2 separate regions of the Homo sapiens genome follow, and region 1 is linked to region 2. The links are contacts of gene promoters, found by promoter capture Hi-C in human tissues and cell types (Jung and others, 2019). All regions are on one chromosome and are shown on one strand. The core of a region is centred on a gene start or on the middle of the fragment in contact, and the rest is flanking DNA. Distances in the headings are between cores, read along the strand shown. Region 1 overlaps CACNG4 (calcium voltage-gated channel auxiliary subunit gamma 4). Region 2 holds the start of CACNG5 (calcium voltage-gated channel auxiliary subunit gamma 5).

Evidence for each region. Contacts are between HindIII fragments. The study calls those that stand out against the background at their distance.
Region 1: a contact is called between a fragment that was not itself captured here and the fragment with the promoter of CACNG5 in region 2, in 1 of the 25 tissues and cell types used here (neural progenitor cells).

Annotation. Positions count from the first base shown.
Region 1 is chr17:66,980,409-66,986,918 of GRCh38, forward strand. The region is part of intron 1 of CACNG4 (calcium voltage-gated channel auxiliary subunit gamma 4); the gene reads left to right. Among named protein-coding and RNA genes, the nearest start is that of CACNG4, 19 kb to the left of the region's middle. RefSeq lists enhancers at 2,559-3,060, 4,980-5,239. The HindIII fragment of the contact is 7,927 bases long and covers 416-6,510 here.
Region 2 is chr17:66,832,939-66,838,986 of GRCh38, forward strand. It overlaps CACNG5 (calcium voltage-gated channel auxiliary subunit gamma 5), which reads left to right and starts at 2,179. Exons shown (of 6, transcript NM_145811.3): 1 at 2,179-2,312. The HindIII fragment of the contact is 10,169 bases long and covers 1-6,048 here.

The sequences.
Region 1 (6,510 bases), core at 3,129-5,628, 150 kb after region 2:
TCTGCCTGAGTCAGATGGCTCAAGATTTCTTAATATGTGACTCCGATGAGGTTTGAGCAGAAGACGCTTGCTTTTTTAAATTATTTCCCTAGGAAACTGTCCTGTGGCAAGCTTAAGCAGGCTTCATTGCACCAAAAATCTTCAAACTCTTTAAAATAAAAGATTCTTTTACCTCAAAAATTTTCCATTGACAATTCCCTTTGTGTAAATTCTTTTTTTTTTTTTTTTTTTTGAGACTGAGTTTCACTCTATTGCCCAGGTTGGAGTGCAGTGGCACAATCTCATCTCCCTGCAACCTTCACTGGGTTCAAGCAATTCTCCTGCCTCAGCCTCCTGAGTAGCTGGAATTACAGGCGTGCACCACCACACCTGGCTAATGTTTGTATTTTCAGTAGAGACAGGGTTTCACCATGTTGGCCAGGCTGGTCTCAAACTCCTGACCTCAGGCAATCCGCCTGCCTCAGCCTCCCAAAGTCCTGGGATTACAGGCGTGAGCCACCGCACCCGGCCTTGTTAGAAACATCTTTGCATTTCTTCCAGAGGTTCCTCTAAAAGAACAAAAAAAAGAAAAAGTAAATAAAAAGAAAAAAATCTTTGCATGGTGAATACTGGAGGAAAGGCAGTTTCCAATGTGACTCGTGCGACCCTGAAACAATCCCTCACTCTTTGTGGCAGTGAGTCAGTTGACCCTTCAAATGTCCATCAATGCAGAGACACAAGCTTCCCCTTGTGTCTTTGTTGCCAGGTGCTCAGAATGTTACCTTCTGTTCTTAGCAAGAGTTTCAGTTAAGGCAGAAGCGCGAGGGAATATGGAAGGAGATGCTGATCAAGTCCAGCATCCTCCAGCTGAGATTCCCAGTACTAGGACTACAAAATTATCCCTCAGTTCTAATCAAATTTGCTACCTTCAGTAGTAATGTCTGTTCCTTTCTTCTTGCTCAGTCTTTCCTATAGCTGAAAACAAAGCAATCATCTTCGACCCTTAATAGCCCTTCATATTCTTGCAAGCAGTTTTTTTGGGTTCTTCTTTGGTCTACCCATCTCTGGAGGAAAGGGAAGGAAATTTACCTGGTTTTTTGTTTTGAAACCTAGTTGCTTTCTCTAGACTGTGGCTTGAAACATACAAGCCTTTGTGCAAAGCACTGGGTCAGGGTTGGGGGTGCTGGGGCCGAGAGAACCACAGGAGACCCACTCTGTTTGTCACCAGTGGCCTCTTGAGCCGCCCGTGAGTAGGACGGTGCTCAGGCGAGCCCGGCAAGGTCCCCTCCGCCCTAGCTGCTTATCCATTCAACACCCTCCTGCTGGCTCCTCTGTTTAGAGTCCAGAATTATGAATAGTTTAAAAAATAAGAGCAAATGCCTGCTGAGCCCTTGCTATGCACCAAGCACATTAGGTATTATCTCAAGAACTTTCCATATGTTATCTCAACTTATCTTTGTAACAGCTATAATTTCACACTAGTTAATTACTTAACTATGATTTAATCAGATTTCAGGTATATTATTGCAGAAAGAGAGCTAACTCTTATAAAAAAAAATTTTTAGAGATACGGTCTCACTCTGTCACACAGGCTAGAGTGCAGTGGTGGGATCATAGTGTGTCCAGAGTTGATTCATTCTGATAGGTTTATGGGCTCGCTGACCTCAAGAATGAAGCCATGGACGTTTGCGGTGAGTGTTACAGCTCTTAAAGGTGGCACGGACCCAAAGAGTGAGCAGCAGCTAGATTTACTGTGAAGAGTGAAAGAACAAGCTTCCACGAGTGGGAGGAGACCCAAGCGGATTGCCGCTGCTGGCTAGGGTGGCCAGCTTTTATTCCTTTATTTGTCCCCGCCCATGTCCTGCTGATTGGTCCGTTTTACAGCATGCTGATTGGTCCATTTTACAGTGTTGATTGGTTCGTTTTACAGAGTGCTGATTGATCTATTTTACAGAGTGCTGACTGGTCCATTTTACAAACCTCTAGCTAGCCACAGAGTGCTGATTGGTGTGTTTTTACAGAGTACCAATTGGCGCATTTTACAAACCTGTAGCTAGCCACAGAGCGCTGATTGGTGCATTTTACAAACCTCTAGCTAGCTACAGGGCGTTGATTGGCGTGTTTTACAATCGTAGCTACAGAGTGCTGATTGGTGCATTTTACAATCCTCTTGTAAGACAGAAAAGTTCTCCAAGTCCCCACTCAACCCAGGAAGTCCAGCTGGCTTCACCTCTCAATAGCTCACTGTGGCTTTGAATTCCAGGGCTCAAGCAATCCTCCCACCTCAGCCTCTTGAGTATCTGGGACTGCAGACGTGCACCACCATGCCCATCTAATTTTAATTTGTTTATAGAGATGAGGTCTTGCTCTGTTGCCCAGGCTGGCTTCAAACTCCTGGGCTCAAGCGATCCTCCTGCTTCAGCCTCCCAAGTAGCTGGATTTACAGGCACAAGCCACCATGCTTGGCTATGAGAGCAAACTCTACTGTGGTTCCTATTAGGTGCCAGGGATTGCCCTGTGCACTTTATATAGATTAACTTGCTTAATCCTCCGCCAGCCTGTGAGGCAGGTGCTAGCACTACTTCCATGGTGTAGATGCAGAAACTGAGGCACGGGGAAGTTAAGCAGCTTGCCCAAGGCCCCGGAGCCAACAAGTGGTGAAGTCAGAATTGAAACCCAGGCTGTCTGGCTTCAGATTCCATTCTCTTCATTCGGCTATACCTCTTCCCAGTTGATAACAGTGGTAGCTATGACATGAAAATCTCTGCAGGCACTTTGCAGAGTTCACTTCCTCCTCACAATGCAGCATGGATGGCACTCCCCTTGTGGGAGACTCACCAGCCTGTGACACCCCCCAGCACCTGCACCCAGGTCTCCAGCCCCAAAGCCCCTGGCAAGATCTTTCTCAGCCCCATGCTAAAAACAGTCACATGCCTGCTGCACGCTGGGGAAAAGGCGAGGTTGTGGGGTGGCTCAGTGTGCTGCGAATATCCAAAATAACCCATGGTGACCCCAGGAATCTGGGGCCACAGTGAAGGCTACCCAGGCTGGAGGAGGAGTTTAGATGGGAAGAGAGCAGGACCCGCCCCTCAGGTGTGTCCCCGTGGTTGCCAGATGCTGGCTGTGGGCTGGGCTGGCACAGCAGGCTTCTTGGAGGAGGTGGGCACAGCGTCGTGACCAGAACAACGCACGATGCCAGGCCCCAGGTCTGACTCATGCAGTCTAAAGAGAAAGGATTCTGCTGTCAGACTGAGGGCGGCTCTTCAGATGGGGCACTCTCCGCAAAGAAGGTGAAAATCATTCTGCTCGAGACAGATCCTTTAAGAAGACATTAACCATGCACTTCAAAGCCCTGGAACCCATGTTTTGCAGGGGCTGCCACCCACTGGCACACTTTCACACCCAGGTTCTGGTTGTTGGCATTCACGTGGTGACTCCCAGCTCGCACAAAGCAGATAGAAAAACAGGCTGATCATACTGTGTGTTTCCATTCATACCCTGTTCAAAAGCAGGCAAAACGAATGCAAGGCAGCGGAGCTCAGCACAGTGGCTCCCTTTGTGGGCTGTTGTCTGGGAGGGTGCAAGGTGTGTGAACAATGTTCTATATTTTGATCAGGGTGCTGGTTATACGGGTGTAGACACATGTTCATCTAACTGCACCCTTAGGATTACTCTCTGTAGATTATCTTCAGTAAAAATTAAAAATAGTAGCCAGCTGCAATGGCTTGAACCTGTAATCCTAGCACTTTGGGAAGCCAAGGCAGGAGGATCACTAGAGGCCAGGAGTTCAAGACCAGTTTGGCAACATAATGAGACCCCGTTTCTAACAACAACAAAAAATTAATTAGCTGGACATGGTGGTGCACACCTTTAGCCCTAGCTACACAGGAGGCTGAGGTGGGAGGATTGCCTGAGCCCTGGAGTTTGAGGCTGCAGTGAGCCACCACTGCACTCCAGCTCTGGGCAATAAGCAAGACCCTGTCTCAAAACAAAAACAAAAAACAAATATAGGTCTGGGATGACAAAGACTCACAGATGGCCTGCCACCAGCCTGCACCCGCCCCCATTCATCCCCAACTGCTGGCCTGTATTTTCTTCAGTCCTAGGTGATCCAGCAAATACTAGTCGAGAATGTGTGTGCCTAGCCCTGTGCTATGTTCTGGGGACTCGTTCATTCATTCATTCAGCACTTATTTTTGCACCCAGCCTCTTGGGAACAGGGTTTGACCTTCTGGAGGAGAAAGATACTCCTGTATCTGCAGATTCTGAGACTCGGAGCTGTTCAGAATGACATGACCTCCCACTTGTTCCTGCCTCGCCATCTGCTTGTGCTGTCTCTCATGGGATCCTCATAACCCCACAGGAAGGTGGGTTCTGTCACCCTGGATTCTTCACCCAGAAGGCGAAGCAGCAGGGGCAGAGTTTGACTTGAACCCGAGCCTGAGTTTAGCCTCGAGCCTGAGCCTGCCTCAGGGTCCCCAGGGTTACCAGGCTGGGAGTCTGTGCTGACAACAAGCCCAGTGTCATTCTGCTCACCTCGACCTCATCCTTGGGGAAATGCCCCACTGAGCTGAGCACACCAGCTCAACGAGACCAGACCAAAGGGTGGCAGGGGACTGACATGGTTGGGGTGAGGAGGGTCTGACCCAAGGGCAAAGAATGGCCTTGCTTCTCTGAGACCGTCCTCTCTCCCAGCCTGGGCAGCTGTGATCGGGAGATACTGCCTGGTACCCTGCTCTGGGGGGCTCCCACCACCCGCCCTCATCCTGCCTTATCTGTTTCCAACTCCCTACCTGCATTTTCTTAGTCTCTATTCAAATCCAGAAAATGCTCATTGAGGATTTGAAAACTAAATCCCAGGCTGAGTCCTGGGCACTCCCAGATTCATTCATTCATTCATTCAGCAAATATTAATATTGAGTGTCTGCTACTGCTCAAGCAGCATTCGAAGTGATAGGGAAAGTTTTCTTCATAGCAGAGAATAAAACAGACAGCAATTCAGTAATGAGTCTATTGTCCAAGAGAGACAAACAAAAAGCAAGAAAAGAAAGGAGTGTCAGGGTGAGGCTTGTGATGTTAGAGTGTCATTTGTCTTAGTGCACTCAATTCCAGGGAGGCTTGGCCTCTATCAGCCTGGGAAAGTCCCGGGGGGCTTCCCAGAGGAGGCAACATTACTCTTGTCTTGCAGAATGTGTAAGAGTTCCCCAGGCAGGGGAATATACAGAGGCACACGTCTTCCTTCCTGAATGCACACATGCAGTCTCCTATTCATTCTTTATTCATCCAGCAGACATTTTATGGAGCACCCAGATGAAAAGTAGAATCCTGTCCTGTTCCTCAAAGAAATCAGCGTCCAGTGGGAGAAGGGAGACAGAGGGACGGCCATCTGTTACGATTCTGTGTGGAAATGCGTTAAGTGCACGTCCAAGGAGTGGCAGTAGCACAGAGTGGGAAGAGGAAGGTCCTTGGAGGCAAGGGATGTGGTCAGGGAAGTTTCTAGATGGTAAGTCATGTGAGCCAGTTTAGGAAGATGAACACAAGTTTGTTTAAAAAAGGAAAAAAAAAAGAAGAAGAAGAAGAAGAAGAAGGTTCCAGACAGAACACAGGCAAAGTTCCAGAAACATCATGCCTGCTCCGGGGCATTCCATAGTTACCCAGTGCCTACCAGGGGCCCCCGGCCCTGAGCCAGCTCCTGGGATGCATGGGACAGAGGGATTGTTCCCGGATGCCTAAGAAATCTGGTACTATCGAAACAGAAAGCCTCTTATGAGAGGAGGCCAGAAGCTGGGGACAGGGAGGTAGGAGAACAGAAGCAAAAGGGCCCTTCGCTCCATCATACCTGCTTAGGAGCCTGCCTCTGGCCCTCCTGGCCCAGCCGTGTGGGTTGAGGGTCTCACCAAGGGGACATTCAGAGCTGATGTGTGTCTGGAGAGCTCATGTGGCTTCTCCTATGCAGGACGGAGCGGAGGGAGCAAGGCTAGGGCAGGGGCACTTGTTGGGGAAACACTGGAAAATTCCAGCCCGGGGGGATGAGTCCTGAATTAGGACAGTGGAATGGAGGAGATGGTGGATTTGAAGGAGATGGTGCCTTGGAAATAGACTGGATGCAAGAATGAGAGCCCATTATGGGGAAGGGTGATGTCACTGAGCAAGACAGGACACACAGGAAGAGCAGAAGACATATGAGTGAGGCGGATAAGTCCAGCTCCAGGGGGAGGGCACAGATCGCTTGGAGCAGATGGTACAAGGCTTGCGTCTTAACTAATGTCTTCACTCTTTAACTATCTCCAATTTACAGAGAGAATTTAGCTTCCAGTGGTTGCTGGCAATCTTTGGTGTCCCTTGGCTTTGTAGAAGCATCACCTTCGTCTCCGCCTTCTCTTCACATGGCGTTTTCCCTGGGTGCATGTGTCTCTGTCCAAATTTCTCTTTTTATAAGAACACCAGTCATACTGGATTAGGGTCTACCCTAATGACATCATCCTTAACTATACTACATCTGTAATGACTTTATTTCAAAATGAGGCCACA
Region 2 (6,048 bases), core at 929-3,428:
ATGCCATTCTCCTGCCTCAGCCTCCCGAGTAGCTGGGACTACAGGCGCCTGCCACCATGCCTGACTAATTTTTTTGTGTGTTTTTTAGTAGAGATGGGGTTTCACCATGTTAGCCAGGGTGGTCTTGATCTCCCGACCTCATGATCTGCCTGCCTTGGCCTCCCTAAGTGCTGGGATCACAGGCATGAGCCACCGCGCCCGGCCACTAGCTTCCCTTTTGAAGGGTGTTTTCTGCAACCAATTGATCTGTTATTTCTCCATAAGCATTGCAAGATGATCCAGAGAATAGGGTCACACAGATCAAAAAGGGGGCCTATCTAGGGGGCAAGTGGACATTCTGGGATTGTTCAATTAACCCACAAGGGAGGACATTCCCTCTTCCACCCACCCCTTTCCTCACACCCAACACCAGGCAGTCTGCTCACCCCCACTCCATACACTTACTCTTCAATGGCTGGAGGACATGGCGACGGCCCGCAGAGGTGACCCACAGGGCATGGATCCCAGGCCAGCCTCTCTGGCCTTTGCTGGGAAAATGACCTGCAGACTTTGCAAAAGGCACATCTCCTGGGTGCTTTGCCCGTTTTCATCTTTTCATTTCATTGATCCAGCCACCTCTGAGGTTTTCTTTGGTGGTTTTCTCCTTGACAGCTTTAGTCTTGGGGAGATGTGTCCAACTTCCAGTCATTCATTCAGCAAATACAATGTGCCTACTATGCGTCAGACTTTCTCCTTTTAAGGGGCTCCCAGCATAGTTAGGGAGATTGACAGTAAATTCATCATTGCCATACTGGTGAGAGCTGTGCAAGAGGCTCCTGGGCCCAGAGACGAAGAAGAAGAAATCCATTCTTGGATTTCCATCAGGGTATTCTGGGGGATAGAGAAGAACACTCTTGGGGTAGGTGGGAAAAGGGAGAAAAAGCGGAAAACTGCATAGGCCTAAAATGCTGTGAATAGACACGTGGTGTATCCTTTCCAAAAACCTTCAGTTGTCCCAACTCCACCTGGCCCCATTCACATGTGACAAAGTCCTCCCATGTCAGGAGACCTCAGCAACATAGATGCTTCTATAAAAGTTTCTGCCCTACAGTTTTAAACTAATATGTTCACTGCTGATGTCTCATTATTTAGCAACCAACTTTGCCCCCAAATATTTCCACATGCCACATCTTTGACCCCCTCTTGGTCTGCAGGGATTTTACAGGCCTTTGAGGGGAAGCTGCTGGTCTGTGAGCATCTGCACAAGTGTGCCGGACAAAGATATCGGTCAGGCTGCCATTTCAAAGCAATAAAAGATATGTGGCTATGCAGGCCAGGAAGAGTTAGCCCTTGGGTTCCCCTTCCAACCTGGCTGACCACACTGGCTCCAGCTGCCACTTTCAAATTAGTCATAGATTAACAAACATCTATTGAGCACCTATTGGGTGTCCAGGACCCAGAGACTAAAGGAGACATAGAACCTAAGAAAGGAAGAAATGTTTTATTGTTAGTTGCCACCATTTATTGGACATATATTACCATTTTACTGTTAAGAGGGACAAACACTTTGCTTAAGGCCACACAGTACAAAAGCAGAGTGGGGCTTTAAAGGCTCAGATTCTGCACTTAGACAGGCCTGAGCTGCAGTCCTGGCTCTGCCATTTTCCAGCTGTGTGTCCTCAGACTCCTCACTTAAGCGCCCTGTGCCTCAGTCTTCTCATCTGTAAAATGGGATTCGTGTGAGAATTAAATGACTTAATACATGTGAAGCTCATTGAACGCTTACACTAGTAAGTGCTCAATAAATACTAGCTGGCATTGTTGTTCTATCACCATCATCATCATCATCATCATCATCATCATCCTTATTTAAAAGCAGCAGCAACGGCAGAGGCTGCAGCCCCAGCTGCTGGAATTTGAAGGTGAGTCTGACTCCAGGCAGGGTCTCCCAGCCCTATGCGGACTCTGAAAGCCTCTCCTCTCCCACGCCGGCCCCCAACTCTTCACCTGCCACCCCCACAAGGGTGCTCACCCCAGAGGTGCTCACCTCCCGGGCTGGGAGACCGCATCTGACCGGTCCCAAACCCCGCCTGCAGCTGGCAGCGCCGGGGTGGGGAGGCCCCGCCCTCGGCCCCGCCCCCTGCCCGCCCCTCCCTCTCGGGGTCCGGGGCGCGAGCTGCGGCGGCGGCGGCCACGGTCATTGGCGCCGAGCGGTTCCGGCTGACTGGACGGGGCGGGCGTCCCGGGCAGCCTAGCGCGGTACCTCCCGCCCCGCGCGCCCAGCCGGCGAGGGACATTGGACCAGGGTCGGGGGTCGCGGCCGCTCCAGCGAGGTAAGAGCCGGGAAGACCGGGAGAGACCACCTCTTCCATCCTGGGGGGGTCCCTGGGGGACGGTCTCCCACCGGTGCTGGGCCGCGGCGCCGGGCTGCGCCCCCATGACAGCCCAGCCAGGGGCAGGGGCTGGAGAGCCCTAGCGATCGCGCACCCTGGAAGGGGCAGTGTGGTGGGGAGCGCGGGCGTGTGTATGCGCGTGTGCGTGTGTCTGTCTGTCCATCTGTCTGTCCCAAGGATGTATCGGGGGAGATGATGACGCCCCCTCTTTGCAGTCGCTTCTAGGCAATTTACCCATGCCAAAGCTGAGGGCAGACTTTTCCACGACGGACTTGAATGGGGCTGGCAGATTATTATCCGGATAATGCAGGAAGGGATAAGCCCACCACCACCTGTTGAGCTGGGCTGTCGGCCTATGCGGGTCCAACTCCCCGCTTATCACAGCCTGCAGGGTGGCCTCATTTCTCCAGCTCGTGGGACCCGGGGCTTCCTTCTCCCGCCTGTGAGAAGGGTTGATAGGAGGAGGTGTCCCTGCCAGGAGCCACTGAGCAGAGATGGACTCGCGGGGGTGATCAGGGTGGTGCTATGGGGACCCCACCGCAGGTGCTGGGCGTGAGGTGTCAACCACCCAGGCACACCCCAAATTTGGATTTCCCCAATCACTCCAAAACCTCTCATTGTGATTCCCCGATCTTTGCTCTCATCCTAATTTGGCAGTTGATGAAGATGCAGCTCGTTAAAAATGTTAAAGTGAAATCAAATTATCACTTCCTAGGACTGAAAATGATTTGAGAAATAATTCCGGGAGCCTGGCTGGGGAGGAAAGAAGCTCATATTCTGACTAGCTTCTCCAGGGCTGCCCCGGGGCTGCCTCCGGTACCTGCCAGGCACGCCGGTGGTTAAGGAAGCCCTTGTTCCCAGAAAGGAAGGGATTCACCCACTTTGCACTGGATTATCAGTGACTGGGTTAGAGCAGGACCCAGGACAGGATCCCCAAGTGGGAGCTGTCTCAGTTTGACAGATGTCACATACAAGCTGTCACCGAGGCTGGCTTCTGCTCCACATCCATCCTGGGGAACACAAGATGGGGCTTCCCCTCCCAGCCACCTCACACCCATTCCCCTCATTTCCACAAACCTGAAGTCTTGATCAATTAACAGCCAGGATTGCCTGGGTGTGGGTGTGGGACCTTGATTGGCTCTGATGTCCTGGATTCAGAGTATCTCAGGACCACAGGCATCTCAGTGGCAGGTTGGTGGCACCTCTTTGCAGACCCTGTAGCCAGCCCCTCATGCCGAAGTCTCCTGCCTGCCTGAGAAGCCCTAGATCTGCCTCACTTCTCTGCTAACGCAGCCCCTGGAGGTAGCTGGGGGACACCTCATCTCAGGGCCAGGTCCCCAGGGTGCCTAACAGGGTGAAATCTGTGCTTGTGCCTGAGACCTCCCCACCCCCAAACCTCCTCTCTCTTGTCATGTGGAAGGCAGTGGATGTGCTGAGGGGCTGGGTAGTCCAGTTCAACGGAAGATAGAGGTGGCCCTGCTGTGGCTGGGGCTGTTGGTGATGTGAGAACCCCAGCATCCTGGCTGGCTGCACCCCAGGCCCCACAAGCCAACAGCACACTTGAGGGAGCTCAGCCATTCTCAGGCTTGTCAGCTGGGGCTCTGTGACTTGGTGCAGGGGGAGATTGGCTGAATTGTTCACGCTTGTTTGGAAGAGACTGGCCTTAGGTTGTTGTGGAAAACGTCGGCTCCAAACCCTGCTAGGTTCCTGACTGTGTGACACTGGCCAACTTACAGAATGCTTGGAGGCTCAGCCTCCTCACCTGTAAGATGGGTCTGGCAGGGGGTTTTGAGAATCAAGTAAGGTCATGAATGAATGACAGTGTCCATTTTACTGGAGGTGGTTCTGGGCTGGTGTTGTGGCCTCTGCTTTCTCTAGCCCCCAGCTTGACTCTCTGACATTGGACTTGAGGGAAGTGGCTGTGTAGCTAGGATCCCTCATGCCATCCTTAGAGGTGGGGGAAGAGGTGTGAATTTTAGTAGCAGGGTAGCTCACAGATTGAGCTTGGATTCCCAAAAAGTGAGGATGGAGGATGTAACCCAGTCTCCAGCAAACTCTGCCTCTGCAGGGAGCTGGCACTTCTGTCCCCAGCTTCTGCCCCGAGCCATTGGTGTCCTGGGCCCACCCCACACAGCCTTCTGGCTCACTGACACTTGGCACATGCCTGCTCTGTCATCTTCTTCTGAGTTTTGGGCCAGTCCTACTCCCTGGCAGAATTGGGACTAGCTACTTAAGACTTCAGGGGCACCAGGACAACCCCTGCCCACCAAATATCATCCTGTTCCCCCAAACCTAGCCATCTGATGCTTAATATCCCACCATTAGAGACTTATGACTGTGGTTCATAGTCTCATGTCAGTTACTAATCCTTAACATCAATGACTTGTTGAGAAGCTTTCAGGGCCTTGGAGAGGAGAGAAAGAGAAGGCAGAACAGAGAGGAGGGAAAGAGAAGCTTGGGGAGTGTAGGAGAGAGAACATTGTACTTTGCCAGCCTCATAGTTCTGCAGAGACAGGCCCAGCTGCTAAGCTCAAGAAGGCCCCAGGGAGAAGGAGAGGCTTGGGGCGAGGGGGAAGGGGCAGGCCTCAGGCAGAGAAAGTTGTGAATATCAAGTGGGAATTCTCGGTGTGAATACAGGGTGGGTGCCAGGCCTGTGTCTGGGTTGGGCTCCGGCAGCCTGTTCGAGAGGTGAAATAGTCCCTGATGCAAAAGCATCGTTTCTTTTCATGCTGCTCTACCCGCTGCTCAGAACACACCACGTGGGGTTTGGTGTGTTCTATGGGTGGTGCCCTCTGCATTAGAAGAGTCTGGCCTGGTCACGCTGGCTGTTTAAAATTGTCAATGATAATTTGTTAGGTCAGCAAAATGACAGAGTATACCCTGCCTGGCTGTGCCTCCCTGAAAATTCCCCTGTCACTCCCCTCGCCCTTTCTTGAAAGAAGCAAAAATGGCATAATTCACTCAGACCCATGAGTTTCCTGGGCTGAGAGTGGCCTGGGGGGAGCAGAGTTCGGCTGGGATCACCCTGAAAAGGCCTGTGGAGGTGATTCCTTGCTCAGTTGTGCACAAGGTCCTGAGTTTTCCAGTGTGGGAGCAAGCAGAAGGGGGGACAGAGGGGTGAGAATTGAGAGTCCCTGCTCACGGCAGCCCATGGCCAGGCTCCTTGTGGGGAGGAGAAGGCTGGCATCACCTGGGCGCCCAGGGGGCTTGATGATGTGGACTGGTCCTGGCTGGTGAAGCCCCAGCAATGAGCAGTTTACTGCCTTTTCTGGATGCTCCAGGGGGCAGAGCCTGGACCAAAAGAAAGATGTTTTAAGTCAACAGTATGACCTATTGGCCATGAGCACCCAAGGGACCATCCTTAAGGATGATTCTCGACCACATCTATTCTTAAATAATAATAACGATGACAACAATGATGATAGCAGCTCCTCAGTCTTCCATAATGAGCATTTATTGAGCACCTGCTATGCATGTGCTGGCTGCTGTTCTAAGTAATGGGGATACGACTGGAGTATTATTGGCATTTGGGGCTGCCTTGTTCTTCTGTTTGGTGCAGGGGAGGCTGTCCTGGGCAGTGTAGGATGCTCTGTAACAGTGCTGGTCTCTATCCATGAGATGCCAGTAGCACCCCAGTCCCTCACCCATTCTTTTTTTTTTTTTTTTTTTGAGACAG